Regions from separate parts of the Homo sapiens genome. Here region 2 is linked to region 1. The links are contacts of gene promoters, found by promoter capture Hi-C in human tissues and cell types (Jung and others, 2019). All regions are on one chromosome and are shown on one strand. The core of a region is centred on a gene start or on the middle of the fragment in contact, and the rest is flanking DNA. Distances in the headings are between cores, read along the strand shown.

What was found. Contacts are between HindIII fragments. The study calls those that stand out against the background at their distance.
Region 2: a contact is called between the fragment with the promoter of TREH here and the fragment with the promoter of C2CD2L in region 1, in 1 of the 25 tissues and cell types used here (aorta).

The regions. Positions count from the first base shown.
Region 1 is chr11:119,103,182-119,109,674 of GRCh38, reverse strand. It overlaps C2CD2L (C2CD2 like), which reads right to left and starts at 2,331. Exons shown (of 14, transcript NM_001290474.2): 1 at 1,580-2,331. The coding sequence starts at 1,933. RefSeq lists silencers at 1,697-1,976, 2,047-2,496. The HindIII fragment of the contact is 6,279 bases long and covers 1-4,570 here.
Region 2 is chr11:118,678,154-118,685,065 of GRCh38, reverse strand. It overlaps TREH (trehalase), which reads left to right and starts at 5,416. Exons shown (of 15, transcript NM_007180.3): 1 at 5,416-5,527. The coding sequence starts at 5,439. RefSeq lists enhancers at 4,865-5,524, 5,525-6,186. The HindIII fragment of the contact is 23,297 bases long and covers 1-6,912 here.

The DNA.
Region 1 (6,493 bases), core at 1,082-3,581:
GGCTAAGCCCCGGTAAAGGTGGTAGAGCCACCTTGTTCAAGATAAGAGCTGCAGAAATGAAGCTAAGCCTTCTTCCAAATAAATAAGATGTGGAGGCTTCAAGAGTATGATGCTTCATATTCTTGGAGATGAAGATGAGCATGGCCTTGGGGATCCGTACCAGGGGGACTGGGAAGAGATACAAGCTCAGAGGACCCAAGAGTCCAGGGGCCTGGCTAATTCCTCAAGGCAGATAGCAGGACGGTATTAGAGAGCAGAAAGCTGCTTAGATCTCAAAAGAGCTGCTCCCTAATTCGTCCACAGTAATGGAAGCAACCTACCGCAGCCCCACCTGGAGAGCAGTGCGGACACAGAATTGAGGAAGGGGCACAGAATTGGCTGGCAACTCTTCCTTGGGTCTTGAGATGGAGGAAACAAATCCATAGGGTTCATTTGCTTGGCAAACCAGGGGAAGCCAACTCCTTTGCTCTGGTAGCTGTCTCATTCAAAGGCTAGGCCAAGGAAGATGGGGAGATGGATGCTTGAAACCTCAATCTCCCCACCCTCTGCAAGGGAGGCCAATGTCCAGTTGAGTCAGCTATCCTGGGGAGTTGCTTCTGACCGAGGGACAAGGTACAGGGAGAGTTGGATGAAGAGGTGGGTTCAAGGTGTAAACTGACAGATGCCATCTGGCTTTTAGCCAGCCAGCTGGACAGAGTAAATAGAGCAATTTCTTGTGGACATTTCTGTTTCCGGCATCTGGGGAACTAGTAAGGTAAAGCCTCCAAACTCATAGTGGCTGGAAATAGAGAACCCTCTGAGCAAGGAGCTGATGGACTGTGAGAGCAAGGAGAGATTGCTGGGTCAGGATGGGAGGGAGCTCCAGAAAAGAGAGACTTCTACCTCCCACCTTATCTCCATCTCATGACCACGCTTCCTGCCCCACTTCCTGGGAGGCCAGATGCCCATGGTGCAATGGGAGGAAGTAGGCTGGACTGGTTTGTGACTGACCCTCAAGGGGCAGTTCCAAGCTCATCTACTGGTAGGGGCACTGTCAATCTGCTCTCCACCTGAACACTCCCCAACCCCCAGTGAACCACAGGCCAGCATGGAGGAGAAGGATGTGTTTGACTGTAGCAGTGAAATTACTGTCGGGTAGGGGGGTGATTCAGGCTCCTTGGGGATCTGCCTGACCACACCAGGGATTTGGGGCATGAAATGTTAAATGGGTGTGGTGGCATGAGAAGCAGGCAAATTCCTTCTGCAGGTGCACCTGTCTCCCATGCCCCAACACAACCAGCACCCAGGCAAGGCGGAAGTGCCCTCAGGCACAGGGATTAGCGTTGCTATGAGAACAGCAACTTGTGCATGGGTTTGGAACCAGAGTACCTTGCCCACAGAAATGGAAGTCTGGGGACCCAGTTGGATTTCTACAACCTCCAGCCTTAGCGGCACCCTTTTCTCTGATCCGGGAGGGGAAGAGAAGCCATAGGGTTCCCCAGTTTATGCCCACCCTCGTCTGGCCTCCTAGCACGAGCAGTCAGTCCCTCCCCTGGAAGGAAAGGCTGAAGGGACCACCCAAGCGCTTGGTCCAACTCACCCCGTTTCTGCAGGCCTGCTCGTTCAGCGCTCGCACCCAAGCCCGCTGCCAGTTCTCCCGGAAAGACTTGAAGGCGAAGAGTGACGCCAGGAGGCCCCGGACTCCTGGCTCCTCGGCGGCGCCAGCCCGAGTCGCCCGCAGCCGCAGCAGCGAGCGCCACACGCCCAGCTCCCGCAGGGAACCCGCGGGTTCCCCGGCTAAGGCGGGTCCCGGGCCCCGGTCCCCGCGGGCCCGCGCCAGCCACAAGCCCCGGGCATATTGCAGCAGCCAGGCGAACACCGTGAGCAGCGAGGCGGCGAAGAGGATCAGCAAGGCCGCCCAGCCCACGTCCCGCTGCCCCCAGCCCGGATCCATGCTCCGCGCGGGCTCCGATCCCGGTCCCGGCTGGGGCTCACCCGCTGCCCCGGGGGAGCATGGCCCGGGCGGGCCGCGGGGAGGAGGTGGGCTCCCCCGGGGCTGGGCGCGCGGGGTCGGGGGCTCTCCGCGGCTGAGTGCCCAGGACTAGTGGGTGCCACAGGGCGAGGAGAGGAGGTCCTCGGGGGTCGCGATGCCGGGGTCTCTGTCTCCGTGGTCCGGGTCTCTCCTAGCTTGGTCAGCAGTCGGACCCGTTAGTCGCCGGCCAGTGCCCGACTCCTCCCACCGCGCGGGCCCCGCCGGACCCTGGAGGGGACTGGTCTGCAGAGACGCTGGGGCTCGCGGGCCGGCACCGGCTCCGGGAGGGCTGCGTGCGCAGAGCTGACACTGACAACACCGCCGGCGCCCCGCCCCCACCCGCCCTTAAAGGAGCCGCACCCGCGCCGGGCGGGGCCAGGACAGCCTGGCGCTCCCTCGCTGGAGGAGGGCGGGAGGGCTAGCAGCGAGCGGAGGAGGTTCCGGGGTTGAAAATAGGCGGGATCTTTGATCACCTCGCCCCATCTTGCAATCGCGGTGCTCCCACACTCAGCTCAAGGCAAGAGTAACTTCACTTACCTAAGATGCTGCCTTTGCTTTCCCCTATGCTTGTTAGATTTCCACAGGTCGGACGCCTGTGAGGTTAAGAAGGAGGTGACCCCTGTGGAAATCACCGCCCCCTTCTCCCAACACCCCCAGACTCAGCGACTTCTAGCTTCCCATTTCCTGGGGGAAGCTAGGCCCAGGGTAAGGAGACGCAGAGCGTCCCTCCCAGATAGAAGTGTCTGGCAGAGGTCCAGCTGATGTCAACAGAGAGAAAGCAGAACCTGAAGCTGGGAGAGGTTGAGAGTAGAACACCGAATTTGAATTCCCCCCACCATCATCACCCTCCTTCCTCTTGGAGCTTGGACCCAGAAACAGCCCCATTAACCTCCTTGCTCGTGTAGGTTTGTTCTGGAGATTCCCAAGCCCAGGCTGTGTGTCTGTTTTTAAAAATAATGTATTTCCATAGTAACAGCTCCTGCCTATGGAGCACGTGTAGAGGGGGTGGTAATGACAAGGGAGCTGGCAATGTAGCACTGGACTATCAATAGATTCAGCCACAAGACCTTGCCACTCTAAGTATGTGATATCCCAACAAGCTCCCAAGAAATGGTGCTGTAGGTACACTGCCCAACCTCTGGCCTCAGAAGCCATCTTTTCCTAGACTCAAGGAGTTGATTCAACCTCTACAGGACTGGGGCTCATCAATGCTTGCTGAGGACAGGGGAAGGAAATACCTGCAAAAGGATTCAAAGGAATCCTGGGGGAATTCACATTCTCCCAAGAGCCCCTTCTTCATACATGTGGGAAGGTCTTTGGCACACAGTCCCTTTCTTAAAGAGGTAGGATGGAAAGGTGTTAAGTATCTTTCTCCCAAACCCAAGTAGTTGTCTGAGGAATGAGCACATGAGAATAAGAGAATAAACAATGCCTTCTGAAGTGTGGGATGGCAGGGCTAGACAGAAACTGACAGGTCAGCAACAGGTTTGTCTGAGCCAGAGGAGGTGGTGGGGTAGCCTGGGCCTCCCTAGATTTCCCTGTAAGGAATGATGGGGAGAGGTGGGGGTGAATGAGGTAACCTCCTGTGGCCCTGCCCATGCATTGTCACTGGACTGCCAAATCAGTGGAGATTCCTAGAGTCTGGGTTTCTAATCTCAAAGGGAGGAGAAGACATGAAATCAAGGGAGGAGAGAACTCAGGGCCAGAACCAGGGATGCAGGAGGAAGCTGTCAGTGGGAAGAGCAGCTAGGGTTTAGGGGAGCAGGTTATGCAGGAAGTTGTCCAGGTAGAAGCTTTCCCTATGAAGACCCTCTTCCCCCAAGAATCCTTCAGGAACCCTCAGACCCCCTAGTGATCTCCATTCTCTGACTTCTTTGATTTATTCCCTCAACTTCTCCACTGAGTGCTTGGTCCTATGCTGCCAGATACTGCTTCACAATTCAGTATCTGAACTGTGAGTCTACCTAGTTACATGAGTCTCCCTAGTTAGTCCTCCCTCTTTTTTTTTTTTTTTTTCTCTTTTCTTGAGACAGAAAGTCACTGTTGCCCAGGCTGGGGTGCAGTAGCGAGATCTTGGCTCACTGCAACCTCCACCTCCCAGGTTTGAGTGATTCTCCTGCCTCAGCCTACCAAGTAGTTGGGACTATAGGCATGCGCCATCATGCCTGGCTAATTTTTGTTATTTTTAGTAGAGACAGGGTTTCACCATGTTGGCCAGGCTGATCTCGAACTCCTGACCTCAGGTGATCCTCCCGCCTCGGCCTCCCAAAGTGCTGGGATTACAGGTGAGAGCCACTGTGCCCAGCCTAGTCCTCCTTCTTTCTTCCATTACTTAGACCTCTAGCACTTACATTCTGCCTTAGAGTCTAGCTGATTGTTTATATGTCTGCTTTTTCCATGCATCAGGAAGCTGCCTAGGGGTGGGAACCATGTCTTAGTCATCTCTTTTCCCTCAAATTCAACCAAGATGCTCCAAATATGCTGAAGTAGACTCCCTGGGGGCAAGCAACTGCAATTATATTAGTTTGTATCCTCCACAGTACTGAAGAGCTTCCTATGCACATAGTAGGGATTAACAAACTTTGTAATTTTAAGAAGTCTAACAGAAAATACTCAAGTATGCTTTGAGAATTTCTATGCCATTTCTGTCTTTTGAAATATCATTCATGCCATACCAGTGGAATGGGAAATCCTGGGGCTTGCTTTTAATTAACAACTTTTTTCTAGACTAAGAGGGGAGAGGTGGGAGGAAAAGGAAAAAGAGTGATTCAGCTGACTGGACAGAGCCACAGATAGAGTCCTGCAAGTATCACAGCCCCAGACTATCCAGAGGGGTCTCATTGTCTTTGTGGCACTATGAAACATTTTTGGGACAGGCTTTGTCTAGCAATCACATTCAGTGGATTGGCCTTGCTCATTGGGAGCCACTCAAGGCTACTTAGAAGAGGTGTGCATCTCAAACACTGTCTGCTCAGTCCAGGGCCACTGACAAGTCAACTGGTCTGTGAATCCTAGGGCCGGCTTCAGCATTCAGGAAAACGCTTTGAACTTTTACCAGGGAAGGCACACAATTTCAAGTGAAGCCAAAAGTCATGTGTTTGTTTCTCCTTCTGATTAGTCTGATCATCAACTGGGACTTTATCATCATGGGAACAAAAATACTCAGATTATCTGACAAGTATCTTAGTAACCATTTTCTGATAGTAACATGTATATGTGGATGATGAATCCTTAGTCTCTCTTGTCTTTGATTACATCCTTCCACCCTCCCCAGGAGGGTGGTGGTAGGGAGGGCTAATGATCTCTGGAGAAGAAAGAGATAAAGCTTCCCAATACCAGGCTGGGAAGGAAGATTTATTAGGATTGGCCTCCTAATAAAAAAGGAAATAGATACAGACTGGCTCTCAGACCTCCAGGGAGTCTCAGTATACTCGTCATCAACAAGATAACTGAATGCTGCCTCCTCTGGGATCCCACAAGCTCCTCCTTTCCACCAGCTTCTGGTGTCTCACTGTCGCTGCCTGTGAAAGGTCCTTCTACTCTTATAATCTACTGAAATGATACTTCTCTTCCTCAAGACCACTTACTCTGGTCACAACTAATTGCTCCCTCCATATGCACCTATTGCCCTCAGTCCTCCTTTCAGCCTCAGCCTCATTATGTGTGATGATGCCTTCCTTGTACACAGATGTCTGTGTTCCTAGCCCCATGGGGACACCCTGTGGAAGAGAAAACACTTGCCTCCCGGGAGTTTCTAGTTTAAAAGGGGCACACGTGCATACACACAACACACACAGAAAAATAATAGCAGTGGGATAAGTACTGAAAATCTGGTGGAATACTAGCAAGTAAATTACGAAAATTTATGTATTTTATACATATCTGGGTTTTTGTTGTTGTTAATTAGAGCCATTTTCAAGTAGAAAAGCCATTTCACATCTGATTTAGTTTGTTTGTTTGTTTGTTTTGAGACAGTTTCCCCTCTGTTGCCCAGGCTGGGATGCAGTGGCATGATCGCGGCTCACTGCAACCTCCTCATCCCAGGTTCAAGCGATCCTCCTGCCTCAGCCTCCTGAGTAGCTGAGATTACAGGCATGTGCCACCACACCCGGCTAATTTTTGTATTTTCAGTAGAGACGGGGTTTCACCGTGTTGGCCAGGCTGGTCTCGAACTCCTGACCTCAAGTGAGCCACCCACCTTCGCCTACCAAAGTGCTGGGATTACAGACGTTAGCCACTGCGCCCGGCCTCACATCTGATTTTGAGGGAAAGAAGAAACTATCTTCGGCTTAAAAACGGTCAACATGACCCTGACTCCTGGAACATGCCATAGAGGGAAGAGTGGACAAAGCGCTAGGCTATTGGAGTCCTTTCCCTAACTCACTGGTGGTGACTTCCTCTCTGACAAATGGAAATCATTTGCCGCCTAAGAGCCTGTCGGGGAATGAAAGGTAATAAAGATGCTGGTGAACTGGCTGGGCG
Region 2 (6,912 bases), core at 4,167-6,666, 430 kb after region 1:
ACTAAGGAAGACAGATGCCCCCCAAAAAGAAGAAAAAATCAACACCTAGGCATATTATATTCAAATTGCAGAAATTCAAAGATAAAAAGTCTTGGAAGAGGGCAGAGGAGTAAAAAAAACCTTACCTATGGAGGACCAAGGATAAAAATAACACCAGACTTCTTAGAAACCATGCAAGGAAGAAGAGAGCCATGTGAGATATTTAAAGCATTGACAGAGAAGAAGACCCCACCAACCTATAATCCCTAGAATCTCTTTCCTGCAAAACCATCCTTCAAAAGTGATGGAGAGGCCAGCACAGTGGCTCATGCCTGTAATCCCAGCCCTTTGGGAGGCCGAGGCAGGCAGATGGCTTTGAGCTCAGGAGTTTGGGACCAGCCTAGGCAACATGGTGAAACCCCGTCTCTACAAAAAAAATACAAACTTTAGTGGTGGCACATGCCTGTGGTCCCAGCTACTTTGGGGGGCTGAGGCTGGAGGATCACTGGAACCTGAGAGGCGGAGATTGCAGTGAGCCGAGATAGCACCACTGCACTCCAGCCTGGGCAACAGAGCAAGAATCTGTCTTAAAAAAAAAAAAAAAAAAAGAAAAGAAAAGAAAGAAAAGAAAAAGAAAAAAAGGAAAAAAAAAGTGATGGAGAAATGAGAACTTTCACAAGCCAACAAAAATTGAGAGAATCTGTAGACCTGTCTTGCAAGAAGTATTTAAAAAAAAAAAAACTTCTTCAGAGAAAAGAAAGATGATATAAGTTAGAAACTTTGAACTACATAAACAAGGGAAGAGCTTTAGAGAAGGAATAAGTGAAGGTAAAATAAAAGCTTTTACTTTTCTTATCCTTAGTTAATCTAACAGATAATGGTTTGTTCAAAATAAAACAGGGCATTTATCCAAAATGCTTGATACCAGGAGAATTTTGGATTTTGGATTTTTTTTTTTTGAATTTTGAAATATTTGCAATATACTTACTGGTTCAAAATCCCAAATCTGATCATCCAAAATCTGAAATGCTTCAGTGAGCATTTCCTTTGATCATTATGTCTGTACTCAACAAGTTTTGGATTTTGGAGCATTTCAGATTTTGGGTTATCAGATTTGGGGTGCTCAATCTGTAATAGCAACTGTGTATTCAACGATTCTAGTTTATGGATAAGGGAACTGAATGACAGCAATGATAGAAGGGACAGGAGGGAGAAGTTAAGACTACTTTGTTATCATAAGGTACTTGCACTACCATGAAATGTAGTGTTATTTGAGTAGACTTGGTTAGTTGTAAACATATAATACTAAAAAAAGAACTGCTGGAGGCCGGGCGTGGTGGCTCATGCCGGTAATCCCAGAACTTTGGGAGGCTGAGGTGGGTGGATCATGAGGTCAGGAGTTCAAGAACAGCCTGGCCAATATGGTGAAACCCCATCTCTACTAAAAATACAAAAATTAGCCGGGTGTGGTGGTGGGCGCCTGTAGTCCCAGTTACTCAGGAGGCTGAGGCAGGAGAATCACTCGAATCCAGGAGGCGGAGGTTGCAGTGAGCCAAGATCATGCCATTGCACTCCAGCCTGGGTGATAGAGCAAGACTTCGTCTCAAAAAAAAAAAAAAAAAACACTACTGGCTGGGCATGGTGGCTCATACCTGTAATCCTAGCACTTTGAGAGGCCAAGGTGGGAGGATTGCTTGAGCCCAGGAGTTTGAGACCAGCCTGCGCAATATAATGAGGTGTTCCCCCAGAACAAAGCCAGTCTGCATAATGGGCAGAAGATCTGAATCACTATAAACCTTGCTTAAAAGAAGACATACAAGTCGCAAACAGGTATATGAAAAGGTGCGCTACATAACTGATCATCAGAGACATGCAAATCAGAACTACAATGAGATATTATCTCACTACGGTTAAAATGGCTTTTATCCAAAAGACAGGCAATAACAAATGCTGGTGAGGATGTGGAGAAAAGGAACCCTCATATACTGTTGGTGAGAATGTAAGTTAGTACAATCACTGTAGAGTCATGTGTTTTTTTAAAGAACATTGGCTGGGCACGTTGGCTCATGCCTGTAATCCTAGCACTTTGGGAGGCCAAGGCGGGTGGATCACCTGAGGCCAGGAGTTCGAGACCAGCCTGGCTAACACGGTGAAAACCCATCTCTACTAAAAATACAAAAAGTAGCTGGGTGTGGTGGTGGGCGCCTGTAATCCCAGCTATTCACGAGGCTGAGGCAGGAGAATCGCTTAAACCTAGGAGGCAGAGGTTGCAGTGAGCCAAGATCATGCCACTGCACTCCAGCCTGGGCAACACAGCGAGACTCCATCTCAAAAAAAAAAAAAAAGATGTTTAATTTTATGTGTCAACATGGCTAGGCAAAGGTATCCAGATAGTTGGTCAAGCATTATTCTAGATGTTTCTGTGAAGATATTTTTTAGATGAAAATAACATTTAAATTTGTAGACTTTGAGTAAAGCAGGTTACCCTCCCTAACTTGGATGGGCCTTATCCAATCAGTTGAAGACTTTAATTTGAAAAAGACTGACCTCCCCAGAAGAAGAAGGAATTCTCTCAGCATGCTGCCTTCAGACTTGAACTGCAGCTTCTTCCCTGTTTCTCCAGCCTGCCAGCCTACCCTAGAGATTTTGGACTTGCCAGCTACCTCTCAAACTCTCTCTCTCTACCCCCATCCCCCATATATGTATTGTTTCTGCCTAATACGGTCCAGGACCAGATGGCTTCATTGGTAAATTCTACCAAACATTTAAAGAATTAACAATCCTTCTCAAACACTTCCACAAATAGAAGAGGGGCATATTTCCTAACTCATGCTATGAGGCTAACATTACCCTGATATTAAAACCAGATAAAGACATCACAAGAGGGCTGGGCATGGTGGCTCACACTTGGGGAGAAACACTTTGGGAGGCCAAGGCGGGAGGATCACTTGAGGCCAGGAGTTCAAGACCAGCCTGGGCGACACAGTCAGATGTAGTCTCTACAAAAAAATTTAAAAATTACCCAGGCGTGGTGGCATGCACCTGTAGTCCTGGCTACTCAGAAGGTTGAGGCCAGATGACCACTTGAGCCCCAGGAAGTCGAGGTTGTGGTGAGCTGTGTTCATGCCACTGTATTCCAGCCTGCTGGGTGATGGAGCAAGACTATGTGTCCAAAAAAAAAAAAAAACAAAACAAAACAAGGAAAGAAAATTACAGTCAAATATGCTCTATACATATTGATGCAAAATTCCTCAAAAAAATACTCGCAAGCCAAAACCAACAGTTTATTAAAAGGATTAGACATCATGACCAAGTGAGATTTATCCAAAGAATGCAAGGGTGGTTGCACAGCATTGTGAATGTAATAAAAGGAAATTGAATTGTACACTTAAAAATTGTTGACCAGGCATGGTGGCTCACACCTGTAATCCCAATACATTGGGAGGATGAGGCAGGAGGATTGCTTGAGCTCAGGAGTTCCACACCAGCCTGGACAACATAGGGAGACCCAATCTCTAAAAAAAAAAAAATTATTTTTAATTTAAAAATTAGTTGGGCGTGGTGGCATGTGCCTGTGGTCCCAGCTGCTCAGGAGGCTGAGGTGGGAGAATCCCTTAAACCTGAGAGATCAAGGCTGCAGTGAGCTGTGATGGAGCCACTGCATGCCAGCCTGGGCAACAGAGCGAGACCCTGTCTCAAAAAACAAAGCAAACAAAAAAAACAATGCCAGCTGCCCACATTACTGGGTGGAGCTATCTGAACCTTTACTAGTTCAGAGTGGTGCCTGATTCATGAGTCATTTCTTTGCTTGAATAAATGGTTAAATTTAATTTGTCTAAGGTTTTTCTTTTTAATAGCAGTAAACACTGCTCAGGTGCCACAACTGACATCCTTAACTGCAAACCTAAGTCCTTCAGGAGAGGTCATGCCTATCATTAAACTCCATGTGCCTTGCCCACCCCCTGTCCCCTGTCCCTTCAGCTCACCTTCCATATGTTGAGGGGATGAGCCTCCTAAAGTAACCGAATCTGCTTTTTTTTTTTTTTTTTTTTTTTTGAGACAGAGACTTACTCTGTCGCCCAGGCTGGAGTGCAGTGGCATGATCTCGGCTCACTACAACCTCTGTCTCCCGAGTTCAAGCGATTCTCCCACCTCAGCCTCCTGAGGAGCTGGGATTACAGGTACCCGCCATCATGCCCAGCTAATTTTTGTATTTTTGTAGAGACGGGGTTTCACCATGTTGGCCAGGCTGGTCTTGAACTCCTGACCTCAGGTGATCCACCCGCCTCGGCCTCCCAAAGTGGTGGGATTACAGGCATGAGCCACTGCACCCAGCCTGAATCTGCTTCTTAAGCTCACAAACTTCTCTGCTGGTTCCACTTTGGGGAATTACAAGGAATTACATTCCTTGGCTTGGCAAAGACCATTTCCAGACTGGTGCCAACATGTTCCTCCAGTCTATCTCAAAACCCTTCCCTGCATGAACACCAAGTTCTCTGCAGCTAGGCTGAGGGGTTTGCTCTTCTCTTCACATGCTCTGCATACATTGTAGTGGTCTCCAGCCCATTTCCCTTGGCAAACTCCTATGCGGTCATCAAGACTCATTAGGACTGGCGCAGTGGCTCACGCCTGTAATCCCAGCACTTTGGGAGGCCAAGGCGAGCAGATCATGAGGTCAAGAGATTGAGACCATCCTGGCCAACACAGTGAAACCCCGTCTCTACTAAAAATACAAAAATTAGCTGGGCGTGGTGGCGGGCACCTGTAGTCCCAGCTATTCAGGATGCTGAGGCAGGAGAATTGCTTGAACCCGGGAGGCGGAGGTGGCAGTGAGCTGAGATCACGCCACTGCACTCCAGCCTAGCGACAGAGTGAGACTCAGTCTCAAAAAAAAAAAAAAAAAGACTCATTACAAATGACACACTATTGTGGGTCTCCCTTAGTCCTCCCCAGACAGAATGGTTCTACTGTCCTGTGCTTCCGCTGTATCTCTTGCAGATAACAGTGAGAGGCCCTGAATTTCACACCACACCAGGGACAGGATCTTGAGCCATTCCATTTGAAATGTTAAGGGAAATGGTAACTCTCTGAGGTTGGTGGTCTTGGGGCCACCCAAGGAACCTGGCATCCAGGTTACAGGTGTGTGGCCTCGACTGTGTCCCTGGCCTTTGGGTGCCCACTCCCCACCCCCACCACCATGCTCTGAGGGAAGGGCCTGAGCCATTGGCACCAGCTGAGACTGTGAAATAGAAGAGGCAAAGTAGAAGCAAGGGAGGTGGCCACTGTGCCCTGAGAGCAGGAGGGGCAAGCGGGCCACACACAGACCAAGCACACGTCCCCTCAGGTGGCCACGCCTCAAAGGCTGGACTTTGGCCGACTTGGACAGGCAGGTGAGCCAGGCTGTGCCCAGCAAGCCGAAGGTGCCTGGGCTTGCTCATTCAGTCACAGTCACAGCCACCATGCCAGGGAGGACCTGGGAGCTGTGCCTGCTACTGCTGCTGGGGCTGGGACTGGGGTCCCAGGAGGCCCTACCCCCACCCTGTGAGAGGTAGGGGTGTGGGGAAGGCAGCAGGGGAGGATGGCAATAAGAGGGAGGCTGGGATGAGATCTCAAGCTCTGGGGTCGGTACTTCAGAGGGAAAGGAAGAGATTATAAAGGAAGGAAAGAGTAGGGAAGAGAAGAAAATGAGAATTCCTATGTAGCAGGCTCTGTGCTGGGCACTGCACCTGCAGTCCGTTTTTTTTGTTGTTGTTGTTAGAGTCTTGCTCGGTCGTCCAGATGGAGTACAGTGGCACCATCTCCACTCACTGCAGCCTAGACCTCCCGGGTTCGAGAGATTCTCGTGCCTCAGCCTCCTGAGTAGCTGGAATCACAGGCATGCACCACCACGCCCAGCCTGTCATTGATTTTTACCAAAATTTTCCACCGTTGGAAGGGACATTAGGCTTGGCGACTGTGCTGGGAATACAAGCGTGAGCCACCGCCCCCTGTCGGGACCTGCAGTCCTGATACCAGACGCAGCTGCCAGAGCCTGGCCTGAGGTCCAAGAGCCTGCTGGCCAGAGCCCGCCCTCCCTTCCTCTCCTCCTCCAAGCTGCCCCTTGAACTGTGCAGGCCTCTTCTCAGGATTGTTCTAGCAAACTTTCTGCTCCAGCTTCCTAGTCTGGGTGTGAGAGGCAGCCTAAGGGCCTGAAGACAGCACTTGGGCTTGAGCCCTGACCCTCATATTCTCTCTGTGACCCAGGGCAGGTCAAGGCTCTTTCCTGAGCCTGAGTTTCCATCACCAGGGACAGAGATGAGTGACCCTGTCCTGTCTCCTGGACTCAGGCGATGTCCACCCTTCGTTCCACATGGATTTATGGAGCTGTGGCCACATCAGCCACTTTACCAGCTCCTGCAAGAACAATAATAATAGAAGAAAAACAGCTGGGCACGGTGGCTCATGCCTGTAATCCCAGCACTTTGGGAGGCCAAGGTGGGAGCTATCATCTGAGGTCAGGAGTTCGAGACCAGCCTGGCCAACATGGTGAAACCCCATCTCTATGAAAAATACAAAATTAGCCGGGCATGGTGGCGCACGCCTGTAATCCCAGCTACTCGGGAGGCTGAGGCAGGAGAGTCGCTTGAACTTGGGATGTGGAGGTTGCAGTGAGCCAAGATCATGCCATTGCACTCCAGTCGGGGCAACAAGAGCAAAACTCTATCTCAAATAATAATAATAATAATAATAGAAGCAAAACAGTAACAGAAGCACAGTTTGAAGTAGAGAGAAGTTAGGGCCCGCTGGTGTGGGTGAGCAGAGGGTGTGTTAGAGAGGATGGGGAGGGACGGTGTCTCTGAGGAGGTGATGTGTAAGCAGAATTGTGGCAGGAACCATTGCTGAGCTGATCTGGGAGAGGACAGTCCAGGCATGGAAAGGGCCATGCAGAGGCCC